3 separate regions of the Homo sapiens genome follow, and regions 1 and 2 are each linked to region 3. Evidence: promoter capture Hi-C in 16 types of primary human blood cells and fetal thymus (Javierre and others, 2016). All regions are on one chromosome and are shown on one strand. The core of a region is centred on a gene start or on the middle of the fragment in contact, and the rest is flanking DNA. Distances in the headings are between cores, read along the strand shown. Region 1 holds the start of HYLS1 (HYLS1 centriolar and ciliogenesis associated). Region 2 overlaps DDX25 (DEAD-box helicase 25). Region 3 holds the start of CCDC15 (coiled-coil domain containing 15).

Evidence for each region. The method cuts DNA at HindIII sites, captures the fragments that hold promoters and counts their contacts. A CHiCAGO score of 5 or more calls a contact.
Region 1: the fragment with the promoter of HYLS1 here is called in contact with the fragment with the promoter of CCDC15 in region 3 in 8 of 17 cell types (activated CD4 T cells, total B cells, naive CD8 T cells and 5 more); the score reaches 12.9 in activated CD4 T cells.
Region 2: a fragment that was not itself captured here is called in contact with the fragment with the promoter of CCDC15 in region 3 in 1 of 17 cell types (naive CD8 T cells); the score reaches 5.4 in naive CD8 T cells.

The regions. Positions count from the first base shown.
Region 1 is chr11:125,886,333-125,890,432 of GRCh38, forward strand. It overlaps HYLS1 (HYLS1 centriolar and ciliogenesis associated), which reads left to right and starts at 1,336. Exons shown (of 3, transcript NM_001134793.2): 1 at 1,336-1,433. RefSeq lists an enhancer at 1,044-1,093 and silencers at 1,234-1,283, 1,374-1,423, 1,524-1,913. The HindIII fragment of the contact is 13,277 bases long and covers 1-4,100 here.
Region 2 is chr11:125,905,761-125,909,638 of GRCh38, forward strand. It overlaps DDX25 (DEAD-box helicase 25), which reads left to right. Exons shown (of 12, transcript NM_013264.5): 4 at 314-449; 5 at 2,436-2,528; 6 at 2,641-2,743. Among named protein-coding and RNA genes, the nearest start is that of DDX25, 3.2 kb to the left of the region's middle. The HindIII fragment of the contact is 3,187 bases long and covers 278-3,464 here.
Region 3 is chr11:124,952,718-124,956,365 of GRCh38, forward strand. It overlaps CCDC15 (coiled-coil domain containing 15), which reads left to right and starts at 1,485. Exons shown (of 16, transcript NM_025004.3): 1 at 1,485-1,653; 2 at 2,007-2,192. The coding sequence starts at 2,016. CCDC15-DT (CCDC15 divergent transcript) reads right to left here and starts at 1,274. Exons shown (of 3, transcript XR_948134.3): 1 at 765-1,274. RefSeq lists an enhancer at 1,145-1,688. The HindIII fragment of the contact is 8,789 bases long and covers 1-1,983 here.

The DNA of each region.
Region 1 (4,100 bases), core at 86-2,585, 930 kb after region 3:
TACGAAGTGTTTGGAGGAAAAGGATTAAACATTTCTCCCCTCCCACTGAATCCTGGATTTAAGAAATGGTGTAAGATGAACTTGACAACTAGCACCTATTTGTTTAAGGTGGAAAATGCAATGCTCAGGACTCAAGACCAGTTGAGATAGGTTTGCTTGGTATTGACTAGGATATTGAACCCTGAGGGCCTCTCCTCTTGCTTTTACAGATCTCATCCTCAGCAATCCCCAAGCACTAGATTTTTTTTTTTTTTTTTTTTTTTTTTTTTACAGGTACAGATGCAAAAAGAGTTAAAACATCGGGTTTAAAAAAAAAATTAGTGGCTGGGCACAGAGGCTCACAACTGTAATCCCAGAGCTTTGGGAGGCCGAGGGGGTAGAATCACCTGACTAACATGGTGAAACCCCATCTCTACTAAAAATACAAAATTAGCCGGGCATGGTGGTGCTCGCCCGTAATCCCAGCTGCTCGGGAGGCTGAGGCAGGAGAATCGCTTGAACCTGGGAGGCAGAGGTTACAGAGAGCTGAGATCGCGCCACTACTCTCCAGCCTGGGCAACTGGGCAACAAGAGGGAAACTCCGTCTCAAAAAAAAAAAAAAAAAAAAGTTGAGAGTAACACCATGTGAAGGAGACAGGCACATTCCAAAAGAAAACAAGTGCATGTCGGAGCAAGGCAGTCGGTGGCTGGAGCACAGTTAGAGTAACGTGGGAGGAGCTGTGGAGACGCAGCCACGGGTCACGCCAGGGCCCTGCACACCATGCAGAGGAAAGGAAGAGCTCAGTGCGCCAGGGTTTCATACAGCCGCTCTCTCAGGCCCCAAGGAAACGTCTAGAGCGCACAGGCGGACTCACCCCAGACTGTTCGAACCGTCCCTGAGCGCCCGCCCTCGTCTCCCGGCACCACTGGCCCCGCAGCAGCCAGTTGAGAAGGGCGGAGGCTGATTCCAATGAAGTGGCAGACCGTTAGGCGGCCTCTCCAAAAAGCCAGCTATGTCGCCGTTAGCCAAGGTTTGAGGGTCTTCTCCTTCTCTTCGAGGGCCCAACCTCCCCTCCAGATTTAGTACACCAGAGGCGTCGCAGCAACGGCTGCTGCCTGCGCGCCTCAGCTAGGCGGGCTCGGATATTTTTAAGGCCACATTGGAAATCCCGGGCATGCTCCCGCCGGCGGAGAAGGCCCAGACAAAATGTGCGCCAATCAGGATACAGACTTGGAGGACGTTTACCCTCAGGACCAATAAGAGGGAGGGCGGACCGGGCCAAGGGTGCCGGTTCGCTCTCCGGATTTAAACCTCAGCGGTCGGCGGTTAACCGCAGGCTCGGCGCGTGGGCCGGCAGTGCGCCTGCGCAAGTTACGCGAAAGCTAACAGAATCTGCGGTGCTCTGCTGGCGACTGGCAGGACGCGGTGCAGAGAGCGGACTTCCGCGACGCGGGTAAGCCGGGCGAAGGCCGGAAGCGGAGGGACGCGGGGACCTGGTGGCTGCCGGCCCACTGCGGCGGGAGCCCTCGCTCCTTTTCCCACCGTCGGGACGGTGCAGAGTGGCAGCTTCCCTCCGTGGATTCCAGGTCCTGCCTGGCGAGCCGTCCCCAACGTCTGCGTTCCTGAGGGAGGCGGCCGGGGCAGCGTGAGCTACAGGCGATGTGCGCGGCGGGCCGCAGCCCCTGGAGGTCACGGTGTGCGCTGGCCGCCGCCGCGGTCTTTGCCCCGGTGGCCTTTCTGAGCTCCTGGGCCGCGCCCCTGGGACCAGGCGGAGGCCGGGGACGGCCCCAGGGCTGGAGGGGAGTCCCGAAGGCCGCTAGCGACCTGGGTCCAAGCCACGCCCACGGCCAGGCGGGGCGACTGCGAGCTTTGCCGTTGAAAGGCGGAGCGTGTCTTGTCGCCTTCTAGCTGCACCTTTTGTGGACTGCAGCATGGAACCGTCCAAGGTGTTTGTCCACCCCGAAATGGAAATAAATCTTTTTTATTCTAAACAGTATACAATCTCACTAAGCAGGCAAAGAAAAACATTAAGATATCTTTTTAGATTGGTAAGATTTTTCAGTACCCCATGCTGCTGAGAGAGTGAAGAAATGAAAGCAAGCACCTTTATGGCCTGTGTGCTGGGGATAATCTGTTTTTCTAGAGGGCAGTTTGGCATTATAAATCAGAATTCAGGCCGGGCGCGGTGGCTCACGCCTGTTACCCCAGCACTTTGGGAGGCCGAGGTGGGCGGATCACGTGAGGTCAGGAGTTCGAGACCAGCCCGACCAATACGGTGAAACCCCGTCTCTACTAAAAATACAAAAATTGGCCGGGCTTGGTGGCGGGCGCCTGTAGTCCCAGCTCCTCGGGAGGCCGAGACAGGAGAATCTCTTGAACCCGGGAGGGAGAGGTTGCAGTGAGCCGAGATCGCGCCACTGCACTCCAGCCTGGGCGACCGAGCAAGACTCTTGTCTCAAAAAAAAAAAAAAAAAAGAGAAAAGAAAAACATAAATCAGAATTCAAGTAGTACCATAACTTCTAAGTCATAATCCAATTCCAGGAGTTTATTCCAAGGACATAAATCGGACAAGAATGCAAACATAGTATGTACATGTTTTTAGCAATCCGAGCAACATTTAGTACGTGTAAAGAAGAAAGAAAATACTCGAAATTTCATCAGTCACAGATAACCATCAAACACTGTTCACATTTAGGTTTACTTCAGATATATTCATAATATATACCTTATATTTATGTGATTTCCTTATAAAATGTGTTTTAAATAATTGCATGTTACAAATATAATAAAGTATGTTAATTTAAAAGAACGTCAGTTAAGCAGATTATACATTATTGAGTCAGTAATAAATTGGGAACACATTTCTCTGTCAGTGTCGATACGCATTACCATTTTTAATGGATGCGTGGCGTTTGTTGCTATGGCTGTATTGTATCATATATTATTTAACCAGTCCCCTACTAATGTACATTTGTTTCCAGTCTCTTCATAATCATAAAATGGTATGGTAGTGGTCACTTGTATGTATACATGTTTGCATTCTTGTCCAATTTATGTCCTTGGAATAAATTCCTGGAAGTGGATTATGACTTAGAAGTTGTGGTACAGTTTAAATTCTGATTCAAAATGCCAAACTGGGCCGGGCGCGGTGGCTCACACCTGTAATCCCAAGCACTTTGGGAGGCGGAGGCGGGCGGATCACTTGAGATTGGGAGTTTGAAACCAGCCTGGCCAACATGGTGAAACCAAGTCTCTACTAAAAATAGAAGAAAAATTAGCCGGGCGTGGTGGCAGGTGCCTGTGATCCCAGCTACTCGGGAGGCTGAGGCAGGAGAATCGCTTGAACCTGAGAGGCAGAGGTTGCGGTGAGCCGAGATCAGGCCACCGCAACTCCAGCCTGGGCGACAGAGAGAGACTCGTCTCAAAAAACAACAACAATAATAATAATGCCAAACTGCCCTCTGGAAAAACGGATTATCCCCAACACACAGGGCATAATAAGGATGCTTGTTTTTATTTCTTCACACACTTGCCAGCACCGGGTACTGAAAAAATCTTATCAATCTGAAATGATGTCTTAATGCTTTTATACACATTACTGAAATTGAACATGTTTTCTGTTTATTAATTTTTGTTGCTGTTTAGAAACAGACGTTGGCTTTGTGCCCAGGCTGGAGTGCAGTGGCCAGATCATAGCTCAGTGCAGCCTCAAACTCCAGGGTTCAAGCGGTCCTCTTGCTTCAGCCCCCATAGTACTGAGACTACAGGTTTATGCCACCACGCCTAGCTAATCTTTTTTCTTTTTTTTTGAGAGATGGGGGTCTTGCTGTGTTGCACAGGCTGGTCTTGAACTCCTTCACAGCCTCAAGCGATCCTCCCACCTCAGCCTCCAAAGTGCTGGAATTACAGGCATGAGCCACTGCGCCCAGCTGTTTGTTAGTTATTATTCGTTTGGTACGGCATCTGTCTTTTCTCCCCTATCTTACTGATAATGTGTACCCTTTAATAGCTTTCTAAGAGGAATTCAAATTACTGATTTTTAAACGTGTTACAAGTATTTCTCCCAGTTTGTTGTCTCTTTTGCCTTCATTATGGTATTGTTTGCCTTTGTGGTAGGAT
Region 2 (3,878 bases), core at 621-3,120, 950 kb after region 3:
TTTATTTAAAGGAAGTTGAAATGGAATATGCAGGGATTGGGTTCAGAACTTCCATCTGTCAAGGATTTGGTCTCATGGAGATGGACTTAGGCTACTTTGAAGTTAGAGGATGGTGAAGTAACAGAGCGTAAGAAACTGAATCCTCATAAAGAACGAATCCTCAGTGCTATATCATTCTTTCTGGAACCCTCTTTTAGAGGAAAAATGAGCGTAGGTGCAATTGCTTGGTATACAACCACTGAAAGAGAAAGAGCAACTTATTTGATGTCATTCAGGAAGCTTGATGTCCTCTTTTTTATTTTTGCTTTTCTAGTGGATTTGGCAGCTAATTCACTCTTAAACAAGTTAATCCATCAATCCTTAGTAGAATCCAGTCACCGTGTGGAAGTTTTACAGAAGGATCCCAGCTCTCCACTTTACTCAGTAAAGACATTTGAAGAGCTGCGGCTGTGAGTATTTTTACTCTTTTAATATGGGAAAAATGCTGAAAACCACAGAACAAACGCATCTGCTTATAGTAAAAACCATCAGGATCTCCTCTTTGTTTTCTGATATTCAATATTTTTTTTTGTTATTTGAGACAGAGTCTCACTCTGTCCCCCAGGCTGGAGTGCAGTGATACGATCTCGGCTCACTGCTCTACCTTACAGGTTCAAGCGATTCTCCTGCCTCAGCCTCCCGAGTAGCTGGGACTACAGGCATGCACCACCACGCCCAGTTAATTTTTAATATTCAGTATTAAAGTGAGATTTGTACATTTTCCATGCAATCAAAATATAGCTCAGGCCAGGCACAGTGGCTCATTCCTATAATCCCAACACTTGGGAGCTGAGGAGGGCAGATCGCCCGAGGGTCAGGAGCTTGAGACCAGCCTGGCCGACATGGGAAAACCCCCTCTCCACTAAAAATACAAAAAGTAGCCGGGCATGGTGGCGCGCACCTGTAATCCCAGCTATTCGGGAGGCTGAGGTAGGAGAATCGCCTGAACCCAGGAGGCAGAGGTTGCAGTGAGCCGAGACACCATTGCACTCCAAGCCTGGGTGACAGAGTGAGACTCCGTCTCAAAAAAAAAAAAAAAAAGGATATTCTAAAGAAGAACATTAGGATACTCAAGTTGCCTGGCAAATTGAGAACATTTTTGATAGTAAGATATTTTCATCCTGCAGTGCTCAGGGGGATAGATAGCTAAGCTAGGCACAGCCAGATTGCCCCTCTCCATATCAGAACCCAGATTCTGATGACCCAGACATCCTCCTTCACCCACTATAGATAAGTCACAAACTTTTACTTTCCTGATTATATTTTGTTTCAAATGATATTAAACTGAATAACTTTCCCAAATGGGTTTGCATTCCCTAGGGATTTATCATTTGACGCTAAAAAATGTATTTTTACAGAACGAGAAAAGCACTGAAACCTACTTATGTAAAGGGTAAAAATCCAAAATCCTAGTTCCCAGACATTTTCTAAATGGTAGAAGAAGCCTACCCATGATTTAAGATGGGCTACCAGTCCTCTACCAATTAAGCACACACAAATGTGCATGTCATTAAAAGTTGAAGTGTTGGCCGGGCGCGGTGGCTCACGCCTGTAATCCCAGCACTTTGGGAGGCCAAGGGGGGCGGATCACGAGGTCAGGAGATCGAGACCATCCTGGCTAACACAGTGAAACCCCGTCTCTACTAAAAATACAAAAAATTAGCCAGGTGTGGTGGCGGGCGCCTGTAGTCCTAGCTACTCGGGAGGCTGAGGCAGGAGAATGGCGTGAACCCGGGAGGTGGAGCTTGCAGTGAGCTGAGGTCGCGCCACTGCACTCCAGCCTGGGCGACAGAGCAAGACTCCGTCTCAAAAAAAAAAAAGTTGAAGTGTTGTAGTCCACTTGATTTATCCTCATTCTGGCATTTTTCTTAAGACCCTCAGGAAAGCTGCATTTTAAAATATTGCCTCAGAAGGATGGAGTAATATTGTGTCTTCTACTCCTAGAAAGAACTAATATAAGAATCACCTAAATAAAAATTTGTCTTCTCTGAAAATTACTGTTAAAAATGTCAATATCGTTCGTGAAAAGGAACAAAACAGTAAATGTCACTTAGTTTTCTGCTTAGGCAGAAAATATAACTCTCTTGGCAAGCAGATATATTCTTTTTATGCGATGAGTTTTTCCATTTTTGCTTTGTTCAACAGAAGGTTTGACTTAAGGCCTTTACCACTGTCCTTCGCCTAGGCTTATGGCGTAGCTTATTATTTTAGTGGTCCAGCTCTACAGGCATGATTGTTTATGTTTGGAAGTTGAGGTATGAATGATCTATCTCCAAATACTAGTTTTAAAGCTCAGCTGCAAAGTGACTTAATTTAGAAATGCACCTTTCAGGTATGTATTTCTGATGCTACTGACCAACTATAATCTGTAAGTGTTTGATTTTTTTTTTTGACAGAAAGGAAGAGTTACTAAAAGGAATCTATGCAATGGGATTTAATAGGCCATCTAAAATCCAAGAGATGGCTCTCCCTATGATGCTGGCACATCCGTGAGTTTCCAGGGTAGTGGTATTCTACTTGGTTATGTTTAGTTTCTTATTTTCAGTTTATGCCCACTCTCTTGTATTCAGTTTATGCCCAGTGGTCTTCTCTTTTCTACAGACCCCAGAACCTCATAGCACAGAGCCAGTCTGGAACAGGAAAGACAGCGGCATTTGTGTTGGCAATGTTAAGCAGAGTTAATGCCTTGGAATTGTTCCCACAGGTAAGGGAAGGCTGAGAGAAGACTGGGAATGCTTGCACTACCAGTGCTAATTTAGTAATAGGTGATATTCCTGTGCAATGATATGGTTACTATGGTGATGAAATATTTAGAAAAGACATGTTTTCATAAAATCATAGAGCATTGGGTAGCAGCATGGGACAGTGATGGAGAGGACAGGCTTTATAGTCTTGAGTGGTTTCAATGCTAGCCTCCCACTTACTAACTGAATGTCTTAGGCAAGTTAATAAATCTGAGTCTGTTAATCCTTGTCTGTAAAGATAGCATCTGTAAAGGAATGTATCATAGTTGATCTGTTCACCCTTAAATCCTAATACCTAGCACAGTGCCTGGCTTGTAGAAACCACTCATTAAACATTGAATAAAGTCATCATGTGGATTTAATGAAGTAATTTACGTTTTTAGCACAGTGCCTGGCATAAATTAAGCATGCAATAATTATAGCCATCTAACTGCAGGACCAGAAGGTCAGGTAGTCCACCTCACTCTAGCAGAGGAGGAGGCTGATGCTTGGAGAGGGAAGTGTCTTTCTTGAGGTCCCCAGAGAGTGGCTGAGTCAAGACTGGCACTGGTACCCGGTTTACCATTCTCCTAGTGTAGTTTCCACTCATGAAAAGTATCTGGTCGTCTCTCCCTATTTGCTTGACAAGCTGAGTACCCATATGCATTAAGTGCTGTGGGGAATACCAAGGCTCTCTCAGTAAGCTTCCACTCTGATCAGCCAGGTCAGCTATAGGTAAGGCATAGGAAATCTTACGCATTTTAGACAAGTTCAGTGAAATTTATGTTTAGGGTTTGATATTATCAATAAAAATTATGTAGGATAAGTTATGTTGGAGCACATTTTGAAAAATGTGTGGGAAAGATATTTTTAGCCCTTTGGCTATGTTTCCCTATCACAGATTCCTAATTGACACATATAAGTGCATTAGATATTACCGTTTTTTTCCATCAGCATCTTTATTCATCAGCAACCACCATTTTTATGGAGTATGGAATAACAGAGTTTGGGGGAATATTCTGCCTATTATGTATTATATTATGTTATATATATCATATTATGTATTGTAAAGATATAGATAATATAAACAGATTGGATCAAGCAAGGAGTGTTCCC
Region 3 (3,648 bases), core at 235-2,734:
AAACTTTATCTGCCCCAAACTGAACTCCTGATCTTCCCCTTTCCAAATCTACTCCTTCCACCATCTTCACTATCTCAGTAAATAGTAATTTCATCCTGACAGCTGCTCAGGATGAAACCCCTAGTTTTCCTTGACATCTCTCCCTCACACAATCCATATCCAAACCTTCAACAGATCCTGAAAGTTTTGCCTCCCAAATAGATACAGAATCCAACCACTTATCATCATCTCCACCACTACCTCCTTGATCCAAGACATCACAATCCCTTAACTGAATTATTGCAATAGCCACCTAATTGGTCTTCTTTACAGTCTATTCTCACTACAGCATTCGGAATTATTATTTTTTTAATTTTGTCACATTATGGTGTTCCTTTGCTCCAAACCTTGCTCCAGTGGCTCCCCATCTCAACACCTATGGTGGCTTACGATGTTTGATCGGATTGCCTGCTTGACCTACTGTCTCAGCATTCTTCCACTCTCCCTCTGCTCCAGTCACACTATCCTCCTGACTTTTTCTCAACCAGGCAATGCTTCCACCTTGGGGCGTTTATACTTGCTGTTATATCTGGAACATGTTTATAAAGCCTCCGTTGAAGAGCACAGTGGCTTCTTCCATTAACTCATTTAAGTCTTTGCTGAAAAGTATCTCAGTGCAGCTTCTCTGGACGTTCTAATATTTCATCCCTCCAATCCCCACCCTGCCCACCACACTCCCTATCCGCTTTCTTTGCTTTTACTCCACATCACACACATTTACTTACTCATTGTTTATTCGCTTATTTCCCCTCACTCTATTGTGAATTCCCTGAGCAGGGATATTTGTTTCGTTCATAGCTATGTATCTCCGGTGCTTGGAACAGTACTGGTTTATAAAAAGTTAGTAGTAATGTATGTTAATCGAATGAATAAATTATCCTACAGAGATAATTGAGTGTCTCTGGATTACAGCAGAGCTTGCAGCAGAGAGGGAGACCACTCAACAGGCCGTGATGTCCAAATATAATAAGATGTATGAAACAGTACTGTAAAATTAGCTGCACAAAGGATCCGAAAAATTTGTTAGCTTAGTTTGTTTCTCCAGGAAGCCGTGCCAGGCTCGCCTCCCTCTTTCATTCTTTTCCCGTGATTCCCTCTACTGGGACTCCTGACCCTCCTAGTCGCCAGATCACAGGCCCAACGCATCCCTTTCCGGAGGGATTTAGGAAGTCTCGGCGTTGGTCCAGGAACGACAGTCCCACCGCGCCTCACATGGCGCATTACCCAGCGACTCCGCTTACCCACACGTCCCCGCCCCCTCAGCCGGACAGGAAGAGGAAATGACGATACCTCGGGCGCTCGAAACTCCACCTCTCACGCCTTCCCAGCTCCGGGAGGGGACGCGGGCTCCGGAAAGGGCGGGCATAAGGCTACGGATGGGCGGGACGGAGCAGCCCACCGCAAAGTGGCGGTCTACTTGAGGCGGTTACCTTAGTACTCCGAGTAGACTGAGTCTGTGGCGAGCTGCGGGCCGATTCCTGGCCAGTGCCATCTCAGCCGGAGCAGGCCTCGGGGCCTCAGAAGCAGGCTTTTATCTGGCCCGAGGCTCCCAGCCGTTCAGCGCGTCTTCCCATAACCTATACCGATTATTGGGACTCTCGGCTGCAGACACAGGTCCCCGCCCCTCCCTCTTTCTCCGGGTTGCAGCTGTCATTCCTCCCTTCCCGCCTCGCTGCGCCCACAGCTGAGGACAGTCTTCGTTCTCTCATTCCCATCCTTTCTCTTCCCTCTCATCGCCATTTCTTCTAGAAGGCAACTTAAAAACCTTTCTTTGCCTCTTTATTTCTTCCCATTTCTCTTCCCTTCTTTTCTTCCTTTTTCTCTAGAATCCGTGTGTTTCCACTTCATGCCAGGCTTCTGCCTCCAGGGCTTCTCTCCTTTTCACGGGCCTGTGGCTCATGTGTTAGGAGGTTGAACTTTTAATGCAGTCATTTGAAGATTTTAAGCTTTTTCTTTCTCCTAATCAGGAGTCACAGATGCTGGGAAGTATGGCCCGAAAGAAACCTCGAAATACCTCAAGGTTGCCCCTGGCTTTAAACCCCCTGAAGAGCAAGGACGTGTTGGCAGTGCTGGCTGAGAGGAACGAGGCTATAGTACCAGTTGGGGCATGGGTGGAACCTGCCTCACCAGGTAGTTCGGAAATCCCAGCATATGTGAGTGTCAGTTTGATCCAAATATGGTGGGGTTCCCCACCACCCTTTTTATTAGCCTTCTCTAATCCTGGGTGCTTAAAGATGAACAGTCCGAGGATGCTGTTTCTATTCTGCCATAAATAGTTTATGCTCTTGCATTAGGATTATAGAACAAGTATTTGCCAAAACTTGACTGCAGCTTTAGTTGGCATAATCAAATATTTATTACTCACCTACTATAATATATAGAGCATAATCTACATGGAACAGGTTATATAGATATATATCTGTATATCAGTTTACTTCAGACTCTTGATTGCTTGTTATGCCCAAGACATAAGCACTATCTACATCTTCCAGACACTGCAACTTAGTATGGATGATAGTTGGCATACTTCAAGTAACATTAATTGGTTGCTTAAGGTTTATGATAAATTTTGTAATGAGGATTCAGGCAAAATGGAGTAATAGAATAAAGGAGAAAGAGATGAACTCTGATAATCTGAGAAAGTCTAACTAGAAATTCCATGGTTTCTGATAGTCTTTCACCAAACTGTGCCCCTTAGCTATTTGTTCAAATTTAACTTGGCACTTACCACATTGTGTTATAGTAGATTGTTTATATATCTTTTCCTGATGCAGTGTGAGCTCCTTGAGCGTAGAGAACAAATGTCATTTATCATCACATTCCCACTTTTATCTTAAATACTGCCTAATCAATATAGACACTCATGAAGTATTTATGAAAGGCACAAAATGTCTTCTGTATGTGTAGACAAGGTGCTGAACATGGATGAAAAAAGGATGAGATATGTTCCCTCAGTGTACTTGATCTCAGAAGAGAAATGAGATGTGTTTAAATGTTAAAGTAATGCAATATACTATATTCATTTTATTTATGTTTGCACATATGTATGTATATTCATTGATTTATTCCTACCCTGCCTATTTCCAAAAAGGATTTTAAGAGTCTAGGTGGTATCTCTATCTAAGTTCTAAGAATATAATGCTCAATCAAGAAGCTATGACGTTGGGTTGATGTGACCCAGGAAAGTGTAATGAAGAATTTGATCGGAGAAGGGAAGGGAATGATTCTCCTATTAAGGAGAATGAGGAGAGTAAGAAGTAAGCAAGGTTCAGGATTCTAAGGGTAGATTAGATCGATTGGAGTGGAAAGCTTAGTAGGAGAATGGTTGCTGACAGGATTATGGAAAATAGGGATGGTAGAGTACCTTAGGAAATTTTGGAGAAGGGATTGACTTTGTTTAATATTTACAGGTGAATGTCATGATCAACCAGTGTTTTCTTTAGATGAATTGCTTCAAAGGTTTTGAAGGATAGGGAGTGATTGGATCCTGGGGATAAATTAGAATATAATTATAATAATTTAAGCATGGAGTATAGCATCGAAACTTTGTTAGTGGTAAGAAATAGAGAAGAACAGCCTTGAAAAAGGATGATTGAAGTGCTTGAGCCC